Regions from separate parts of the Homo sapiens genome. Here region 2 is linked to region 1. Evidence: promoter capture Hi-C in human tissues and cell types (Jung and others, 2019). All regions are on one chromosome and are shown on one strand. Each heading gives the region's core, a stretch centred on a gene start or on the middle of the fragment in contact. The rest is flanking DNA. Distances are from core to core; before and after follow the strand shown. Region 1 overlaps LOC105377085 (a long non-coding RNA gene). Region 2 holds the start of GRM2 (glutamate metabotropic receptor 2).

Region 1 (4,695 bases), core at 1,978-4,477:
ATTTATGACACGAGTGTTTTTTGCAGTTAGGAAACCTCGTTCTTTCCAGATAGACGAGTGTGAGTGTACTTCATGGAACGCATAACGAGAATCCAAATATATGTTAATTTGTTGTCTGGCTGCTAGAGTGAGAGCTTGAGTGACAGCAATGAGTTCAGCTTTTTGGGAGGTGGTGCCTAGGAGGAGCGGAAAACCCCTGCCCCAGGTTTCGGCACCAGATGAAAGTTCTTGTATCGGTTCAAACCCCGAGAGCACGCCAATGGACAACACGAGGCGGTGTGGAGCAACACACTGTTTTAATGAGCGCCTGGGTGCAGGCGGGCTGAGGCCTAAAATGGCATCAGCCCCAAGTGAGGATGGGGCAGGGGTTTTATAGTCTCCTGTAAACAGGAAGTGTCCCAGTCTGACGTAACTGCTACGTGGTACCTGGGTGGCCTTTTTCTCGATCTTCAGAGTTACGTGTCTTCCGGCCAGGGGAGGTGTCTTCCGGCCTGGGTAGGTGTCTTCCGGCCGGCTCTCTTCCTGCTTCTGCTATCTTGCTGACGCACACTGCTAGCGCAAGTGGCCTTTTGCCTTGGGACTGGGCCTGAGAAGGGAGGAGTTACTCATCCCTTCAAGCTTTCAGGCCCTGGGGAGAATCTTTCACAGGGCAGTTATCTGGGGCTTCTCACTACACCTACACACCATGTTGCCCCCAAGTTCTGGTCCCTCTGCCTAGAATTCTTCTTCCCTGAGACTTTACATGGTTCTCGTTAGCATTCTTGGCATTCAGGATTCAGCTCACAGGACACCTCATTGGGTTGGTCTTACCCAATGCCTTCCCTCTTCCAACAGCCTCTCTCCCATACTGGTCTCTGTTTCGTGTTTTCAGAACTTATTAGAATTTGCAATTATTTTGTACTGTCTTTCTCACCTGTTTAGAAGGTAAGCTACTTGAGGGCAGAGACCTGTTCCCTCCTGTTTAGTGCTGTGTTCCCCAGGGCATATCAGCATCTGAAATACAACTGGGGAACAATAAACATCTGTTCATTTGAATGAACATCCATATAGGATAGGTTTCTATTAGTCACATTCTACAGACCACACTCTTCTAGGCTCAACTCTGAACATACTTCCTCATTCATGTTGGGGATGGTTATAAGCATGGGCTCTGGACCTAGATGATCTGCACTCAAACCCCATCGCTCTTCTGACTTCTCAGCTTATTTTTCCACCTTTGAAGTGGAATGTTGATGTGAGGATTAAATGAGTTAATAACTGTAAAATGCTTATGGTCATGCCTGTCATGTCTTACTAGTATTCCCCAGCATTGGGTACAGTGCCTGGTACATCTTTTATTTATTTATTTATTTATTTATTTATTTTTGAGACGGAGTCTCGCACTGTCACCCAGGCTGGAGTGCAATGGCGTCATCTCGGCTCACTGCAAGTTCTGCCTCCTGGGTTCACGCCATTCTCCTGCCTCAGCCTCCTGAGTAGCTGGGACTACAGGCGCCCGCCACCACGCCTGGCTAATTCTTGTATTTTTAGTAGAGACGGGATTTCACCATGTTAGCCAGGATGGTCTTGATCTCCTGACCTCATGATCCGCCCGCCTTGGCCTCCCAAAGTGCTGGGATTACAGGCATGAGCCACCGTGCCTGGCCAGTGCCTGGTACATATTGGTACCCAGTAAATAGTTGCTGAATGGGGAATTTTATGGCGTAGCAATTATGCTAGGCCGTCATTAGATACTGGGGTCGATTTTTAAAAAATCTCCTAGGACATTATAATCTGGGTGATGAGTGGTATACAAGCAGAAAAGGTAAAAATATCCCAAGAATGGGATGACTGTTGAAGAAAGCAATACAACCCTTTGTCACCTTGGAATCTGGTTCAGAGTGATCATGGCTTTGGCATTCAGAAGTGAGGGGGGGCCATTAAGTGTGGCTGGTGGGTGCAGGATTGATCTAACTCTCACGGAATAAGCAGGAGGTGAAACAGATAAAATGAAGAGGGTGGCTTGAACCTGGGAGGTGGAGGATGCAGTGAGCCGAGATCACGACACTGCACTCCAGCCTGGGTGACAGAGCAAGACTCCATCTCAAAAAAAAAAAAAAAAAAAAAAATGAAGAGAGTGTTTTTCCATGTGTGTTTTCATGGTGATGAAGAAAACCTTGTTCTGGTTTCTGATTAACCAACAAGTCCCTGGTGAATTTTGCCTAATCCCAGAAGGGCAGTCCCAGATCTTTTAAACTCACTTAAAGGTATAGCCAACAATAGGCAGGTGTATGCATAAATCACTCTAGGGACTTCCCCTAATAGAACCAAATCTTTCTACAGGTGAATTTTGGGGTACCATGAATCTCAGAGGTTGTTGTGCGGGCATGACATCATCCAAGTAGTCAGGGAATTTCTAGAAGGGTGGGGAAACAGATGTTACAGAAGGACAATGCCATCCTGGGAGGAGGGAATGGAAGAGGCTTCCATCACCAGGGGAGCTAGCTCTGGCCTTTGTGGCTCCTACTTTAGTGACATGAGAAAGGTAAGTGTCTATGTTTTGGTGGTTGTGCCTTAAGTCTTTTAATTGGGGGCCAGGGGATGGGGGTGGGGGGATTAACAATAGGAGTGTGTGTGTGTGTGTGTGTGTGTGTGTGTGTGTGCGTTTAAATATATCTGGCCAACCTGACTGGTTTCTTTCTCCTCTCTTTGGTAGTCTCTGGGGCTTTCATGTGAACCTGTTTCAACTCCTGAGGCCAAATATGCTCTATGTGTCACCCGGAGAGTCCCAGCTAAGAGGCCAAATGAGTAAAATGCAAGACATGAAGCTGGGAGGGGTCGGAATGCTGATCTGACCTCAGGCTGCTGGAGAGAAGTTAACTAGCTTTTTAAAATTTTTATTTATTTTTTTAAGAGATAGTGTCTTGCTATATTGCCCAAGCTGAACTTGACTTCCTGGGCTCAAGTGAGCCTCCTGCCTCAGCCTTCTGAGAAGCTGGGACTACAGAAATGTGCCACTGCACTTGGCTGGAACCAGCTTTTGAGGCATTCTTTGCCTCTGAAGAACCTAGGATGAAGTTCCTCTTACCTGAGGAAGCGGAGAAGCTTCCAGAGGCTTTGACTGTGCTGCTTTCTAACCCATGAGCCTGCTGTTTCCAGAAGGAACACTCTATTAGTCTGTTCTCACACTGCTATAAATAAATGCCTGGCACTGGATAATTTATAAAGAAGAGGTTTAATTGGCTCATGGCTGTACAGAAAGCATGATGCTGGCATCTGCTGGGCTTCAGGGGAGGACTCAGAAAACTTACATTCATGGTGGAAGGCGAAGGGGGAGCGAGCACCTCACAAGGCTGGAGTAGGAGGAAAAGAGAAGTGGGGGGAGGTGCCATACACTTTTTTTTTTTAAGACAGCCTCACTGTTGCCCAGGCTGGAGTGCAGTGGCACAATCTCAGCTCACTGCAATCTCCACCTCCTGGGTTCAAGTGATTCTCCTGCCTCAGCCTCCCGAGTAGCTGGGATTGCAGACACACACCATCATGCCTGGCTAATTTTTGCATTTTTAGTAGAGACAGGGTTTTGCCATTTTGGCCAGGCTAGTCTCAAACTCCTAACCTCAGGTGATCCACTTGCCTCGGCCTCCCAAAGTGCTGGGATTATAGGTATGAGCCACCGCGCCTAGCCGACACCATACACTTTTAAACAACCAGATCTTGTGAGAACTCACAAGAAGAGAACCAAAGGGACAGTGCTAAGCCATTCATGAAGGATCTACCCCCATGATCCCATTACTTCCCACCAGACCCCACCTCCAACATTGGGGATTACAATTCAACATGAGATTTGGGTGGGGACACAGATCCATATTAGATAGCAAAGTGCCTTTTGACAGGCAGAACCCTTTCATTACCTCCAGAAAATAATATAAATGAAAAATCAGGCATATATGTGTCTCAGAAGCCAAGGGGGTATGTAAAAATGGGAAATTTGAGAACACCTGAAAATTAGGATTTTTTTTGGAACACCTTCTGCAGATCTAAATTCCCATCAAGAGTTAGCTCCAAAAATAACCGCATCTGGTATCTTAGAGGTGTGAAGGCCTAGAAGAAAAGGAAAGTGGGGACGAGAAAGGAATTGCTATCCTCTTGATTTTATGAGTAAAATACAAAGCCTTCAAAGAAAGATGCACTTTTGTAATTTAAAACATCACTTTGTCGGCCAGAGGTGGTGGCTCACGCCTGGTGGCCCAGCACTTTGGGAGGCAGAGGTGGGCAGGATCACCTGAGGTCAGGAGTTCGAGACCCGCCTGCCCAATATGGCGAAACCCTGTCTCTACTAAAAATGCAAAAAATTAGCGGGGCGTGGTGGCGGGCGCCTGTAATCCCAGCTACTCGGGAGGCTGAGGCGGGAGAATAGCTTGAACCCAGGAGGCGGAGGTTGCAGTGAGCCAAGATCCCGCCACTGCACTCCAGCCTGGGCGACAAGAGCGAAACTCCTTCTCAAAAAAAAAAAAATCATTTTGTCAACATTCACTTATTGGGAAGAGGAGAAGAGAACCTGAGGCTATAGTGGAGAGAGCCGTTACAGTCCCATCAGTAACTGGAGCCCACATGGCCACATGGCAGTAATTCCCAACTTGAGGAAGGAGAACCTGCACCCTTAACCTCCACCTGAGTGTCAGCAATCAAGAAAGCCCCCTTTTGCCTCTGCTTCTC
Region 2 (4,105 bases), core at 419-2,918, 170 kb after region 1:
ATCCGTGTGCACACAGCTGGGAGTGGTGGCTGCCTAGCTGTGTGTAACTGTGTGTCCATGTGCTGCGACTGTGCAGCTTGTTTGCTGCAGGCCACATCATGGGCTTTTCTGGCTGATGCTGTACACAGCCATATCTGTGTTTACAGCCCTGTGCCTTTTGTGAGGCTGACTTGTTGAGCAGGTTGGGAGTGTGGCTAGAAGGAGTGTGTGACTCCTCACCTCAGCACCCTCCTGCTGTCAACCCCTCTGCTCCAGAGGCCTGGCCCATTGCTCACCTACCCCAGGGAGCTGTTGCTCTGAGGCAGCCAGAGAGGGTGAGAGCAGCCGGTGGCAGAGTTGGAGGTGGAAGACAGCATGTCTGTCTCCCACTGCCACCTTGTCTCCTGTTAGTGATGGGGCTTGTGTTTGTTTGGGTTTTATGTGTCTGTTTCGTTTCAAAGCTGTATTCTTTCCACAGCAGCAGGACATCAGGTTTCTGTGTCCAGGGAAAAAGCTCGTCCTTGGTGATCACCCCCGCACCCCTACGGACTGCCACACGCACATGTGGGTGTGTGTGCCTGAGGGGTCTGGGCTTGGCATGTTCATTAGCATGTATCTGAGCTGGCCTTGCTTCCACTGACACCTGTGGAAGAAAGGGCAGTGTCGGGAATGTGTGTAGGGATGCCATGCCCCTTGGCACTTGTTAGTGTGTGCACATGTTAGGGGCAGATAGCACAGGCTCTCTAATCCCCATTCCTTCAGCACAGTCTGGCACTACAGCTTATCCACTACCCTCTACCCAGGGGCGTCCTTCCCCATCCTGCTGTGGGAGGGAAGAGTCAAGAGAATCTTCTCAGAGCTGTCCTCCCTCTGCTTGGGCTCCAGCTCTCACTCCCTCCTACGCAGCAGCCAGTTCCAGAAGCCTTTCCCTAGGCCCCTCCCCTCCCAGATGCCCCTGCCATCCCTAACACTCCCTCAGGGTTGACCCTAGTACTTGGTTCTGCAGCCCTTCCTGCAGGTTGCTCTCTCCTTGCTTAAATACCCTTTTTACATGGGAGTGGGTGGCAGGTTTAAAGGGCATCTGCAGGAAGGAAGGGGAGGCCCCATTCTCCTCTGACCTCTCCCTTCCCCCAATCTTTTCCTCATAGTGACTCTGGCTCCAGGTCTCAAAAGTGGCAGAGGACACATGCCTCCAACTCAGGCCTGGGATGTGGACCCAGCTGAAATCGCTGAGTGGGGAGAATAGACTCCACCCGTCTCCCACGCGCCCCTTTACCTATCCCCCAGAGGCACCCCTTGCACTAAGGCCAGCTCCTCCACTCTGCAGTAGCACTATGGGCACCTGTCGGGGCGCAGTGACCTTCCCCACCCCGTGCCCCGTGGCATCCCCCCGCCCCCCACCTATGCTCTCTAGGTGGTAGTCTGACTATGGGGCGGAGTGGGCCACGAAGCACCCGCTCCAGCGCAGAGCGAGAGCGCTCGGGGATTCAGCACCACGAGGCGGACAGCTCCAGGCCCTGAGGTCCCCAGAAAAGCTGGAGCGCGGAGTGTCCAGAGGAGGCGGAGGCTGGGTTGGGAGCAGGAGACCTGGCGTCTGGAGGAACGGAGGAGGGGCTGGGGGCGGGCCGGGGCCGGGGGCGGGGCGGGGCGGGCCGCGATTGAAAGCGGCGGGGCGAGCGGGCGGGCGGAGAGCGCAGAGCCAGCGAGCCAGCGAGCGAGCGAGCGGGAGCCGGAGCCTCGCGCCCCCCGCTCCACTCCGATTCTCTCCGCGCCAGAGCCAGCGCGCCAGGTAGGGTGAGCCGGTGGTGGTGGTGCCGCTGCCGCTGCCGACCTTTTTGGCCCTTACCTCACGTCCCAGGGTCCTGCGGGCCCTCAAGTTGTGGGGCGCCCGCGCTGCTGTGTCCAGACAGCGTTCCCTGAGAGCTCCGGGAAGCGGGAAGACAGCCCCGGGCGTCCCGCCTTTCTTCTCCAGAAAACGCACGCCCCACATCGCACTCCCCCGTTCCTCCTGCTCCAGCGTCCTCTGGTCCTTCTTTCTGTCTGTGCCTCCGTCTTTGTCTCAACCTCTCAGGCTTGCTCGCTCCCTGCCCAGATTTTGTGGCCCAGGCTCCTGGCTGTCTGACTCCGGGTTTCTGTCCCCTTCCTGCCTCTGAGCTTCCGTCTGGGCCTCCCCTCTGGGAGACTTGCGACTTGACCAGTTTTGGCTTCAGCCCCCATCTGGGTCCCTGTCTCCATCTGTGCTGGTCTTCCTCCCTGCTTCTCCCTCGCTTGCCTGGGTAAGCTGCTGCTTTCCTGATCCCCAGAGGAGCCCAGTGCCCCTGCCCTGGGGAGCTGAGGGGGCAAAATGAAGAGGCTCAGCCTCCGTGGCCAGCACATGGGGTCCTTGAGTTAGTTGCTGCCCTTCTTCAAACTCAGTTTCCTTTCCTGTTCTGAGGAAAGAGGTATGTCCCTCTCCCAGCCTTTCCAAGCCTGTGTGATTGTGAGAGCCTTTGTGGGGTGTGTGTTTGGGAAGGCAACTGGGGTACAAATGATTGGACGCAGTGGGGAAGAGACAGGGAGGGGGTCTCTGAGGGCCATGGCTAGGGTGGGCAGGGCCCTGAAGCTGAGGATGGGGAGATTGGAAATGGTGACTTTCTCTGCTGGGTCGGGAGTGAAGAGAAAACAGAGGCACAAAATCTCAAGCAGTGTTCTACACAGAGCTAGAGAGTCCCGCACTCTCACCCTCAGCACTGTTTGGAGACTCTAGCCCCCAACCCTGACACACACATACGTGAACATCTGCTTGCCCTGTTGACTTAGGACCTTGAGCCACTTGGGTACCCTCCCTGAGGCCAGCCATTCCACCTTGCTGTCTCATTCCCAGGGCTTAGTGTCTCTATTCCTTCCTCAGTCAGCAAACTGTGGGGATGGCTTTTTAAGAACCAAAGGTTAGAACCCTTGGGTGTTCACATGGGCTCCAGTCTCCCCACGGGTTGGAGACTGTCCCTTAGAGATGCTTCCCTTCCTCTTCCCTGGTGGGTCCTGAGACAGCAGTTCCTTCTCTCTGGAAATCCAAGGCTCAGGATGGGGACCTCTGAGTTTGTGACTGTGACATAGTCTGTTCCAAAGGTATTGACCTCGGGGTCCTGGGAGGTTTGTGCTGTTCTTGGACACCCTTTGAATTACAGAGGGGTCAGCATTGGCTGGGGTCTCCTGTCCTCTGCCTGGGACTTCACTGCTTGCATCTCTCCCCACTGCTGAGTTTGGTAGGGGAATATGGCCCATCTCTCACCAAGCTGAGGCCAGGGCTGAGAGACAGGTCCAGGGGAGTCCCAGGAGCTTCTCAACCTACTTAATGACACCATCCTGTCCCTCCCTGGCTTTTGAGTACCTAGGAAAGGGGCTCGTGGGGAGGCAGAGTCAGAAGGGGCAGCTGCTCTCAGGTTCCACTTTTCCTGGTCTGTTTTTCTGTCTTTCTATCTCTCTGCAGGAGCTGGGTCCCTTCGCATCTCTCTTCTTGTCTGTCCTTTCCTGGTCCCTGTTTCCTCCTCTCTTTGCCTTCGCTGCTTCTAATCTCATCCCCTGGAGACCCAGGTCTGCGGGACCCATCCATCCCCTTTGGGGCCATGGGATCGCTGCTTGCGCTCCTGGCACTGCTGCTGCTGTGGGGTGCTGTGGCTGAGGGCCCAGCCAAGAAGGTGCTGACCCTGGAGGGAGACTTGGTGCTGGGTGGGCTGTTCCCAGTGCACCAGAAGGGCGGCCCAGCAGAGGACTGTGGTCCTGTCAATGAGCACCGTGGCATCCAGCGCCTGGAGGCCATGCTTTTTGCACTGGACCGCATCAACCGTGACCCGCACCTGCTGCCTGGCGTGCGCCTGGGTGCACACATCCTCGACAGTTGCTCCAAGGACACACATGCGCTGGAGCAGGCACTGGACTTTGTGCGTGCCTCACTCAGCCGTGGTGCTGATGGCTCACGCCACATCTGCCCCGACGGCTCTTATGCGACCCATGGTGATGCTCCCACTGCCATCACTGGTGTTATTGGCGGTTCCTACAGTGATGTCTCCATCCAGGTACGTGGAAGCCACCCAAATGGGGGCTAGGGAGGGAGGCCGGAGGTGGTGACCCAGAATTCCTGCTGAAA

What was found. Contacts are between HindIII fragments. The study calls those that stand out against the background at their distance.
Region 2: a contact is called between the fragment with the promoter of GRM2 here and a fragment that was not itself captured in region 1, in 2 of the 25 tissues and cell types used here (dorsolateral prefrontal cortex and mesendoderm cells).

The regions. Positions count from the first base shown.
Region 1 is chr3:51,533,464-51,538,158 of GRCh38, forward strand. LOC105377085 (a long non-coding RNA gene) reads left to right here. Exons shown (of 3, transcript XR_940835.3): 2 at 2,323-2,524; 3 at 2,696-3,206. Among named protein-coding and RNA genes, the nearest start is that of RAD54L2, 2.9 kb to the right of the region's middle. The HindIII fragment of the contact is 7,506 bases long and covers 1-4,695 here.
Region 2 is chr3:51,705,400-51,709,504 of GRCh38, forward strand. It overlaps GRM2 (glutamate metabotropic receptor 2), which reads left to right and starts at 1,669. Exons shown (of 6, transcript NM_000839.5): 1 at 1,669-1,768; 2 at 3,449-4,034. The coding sequence starts at 3,585. The HindIII fragment of the contact is 8,284 bases long and covers 1-4,105 here.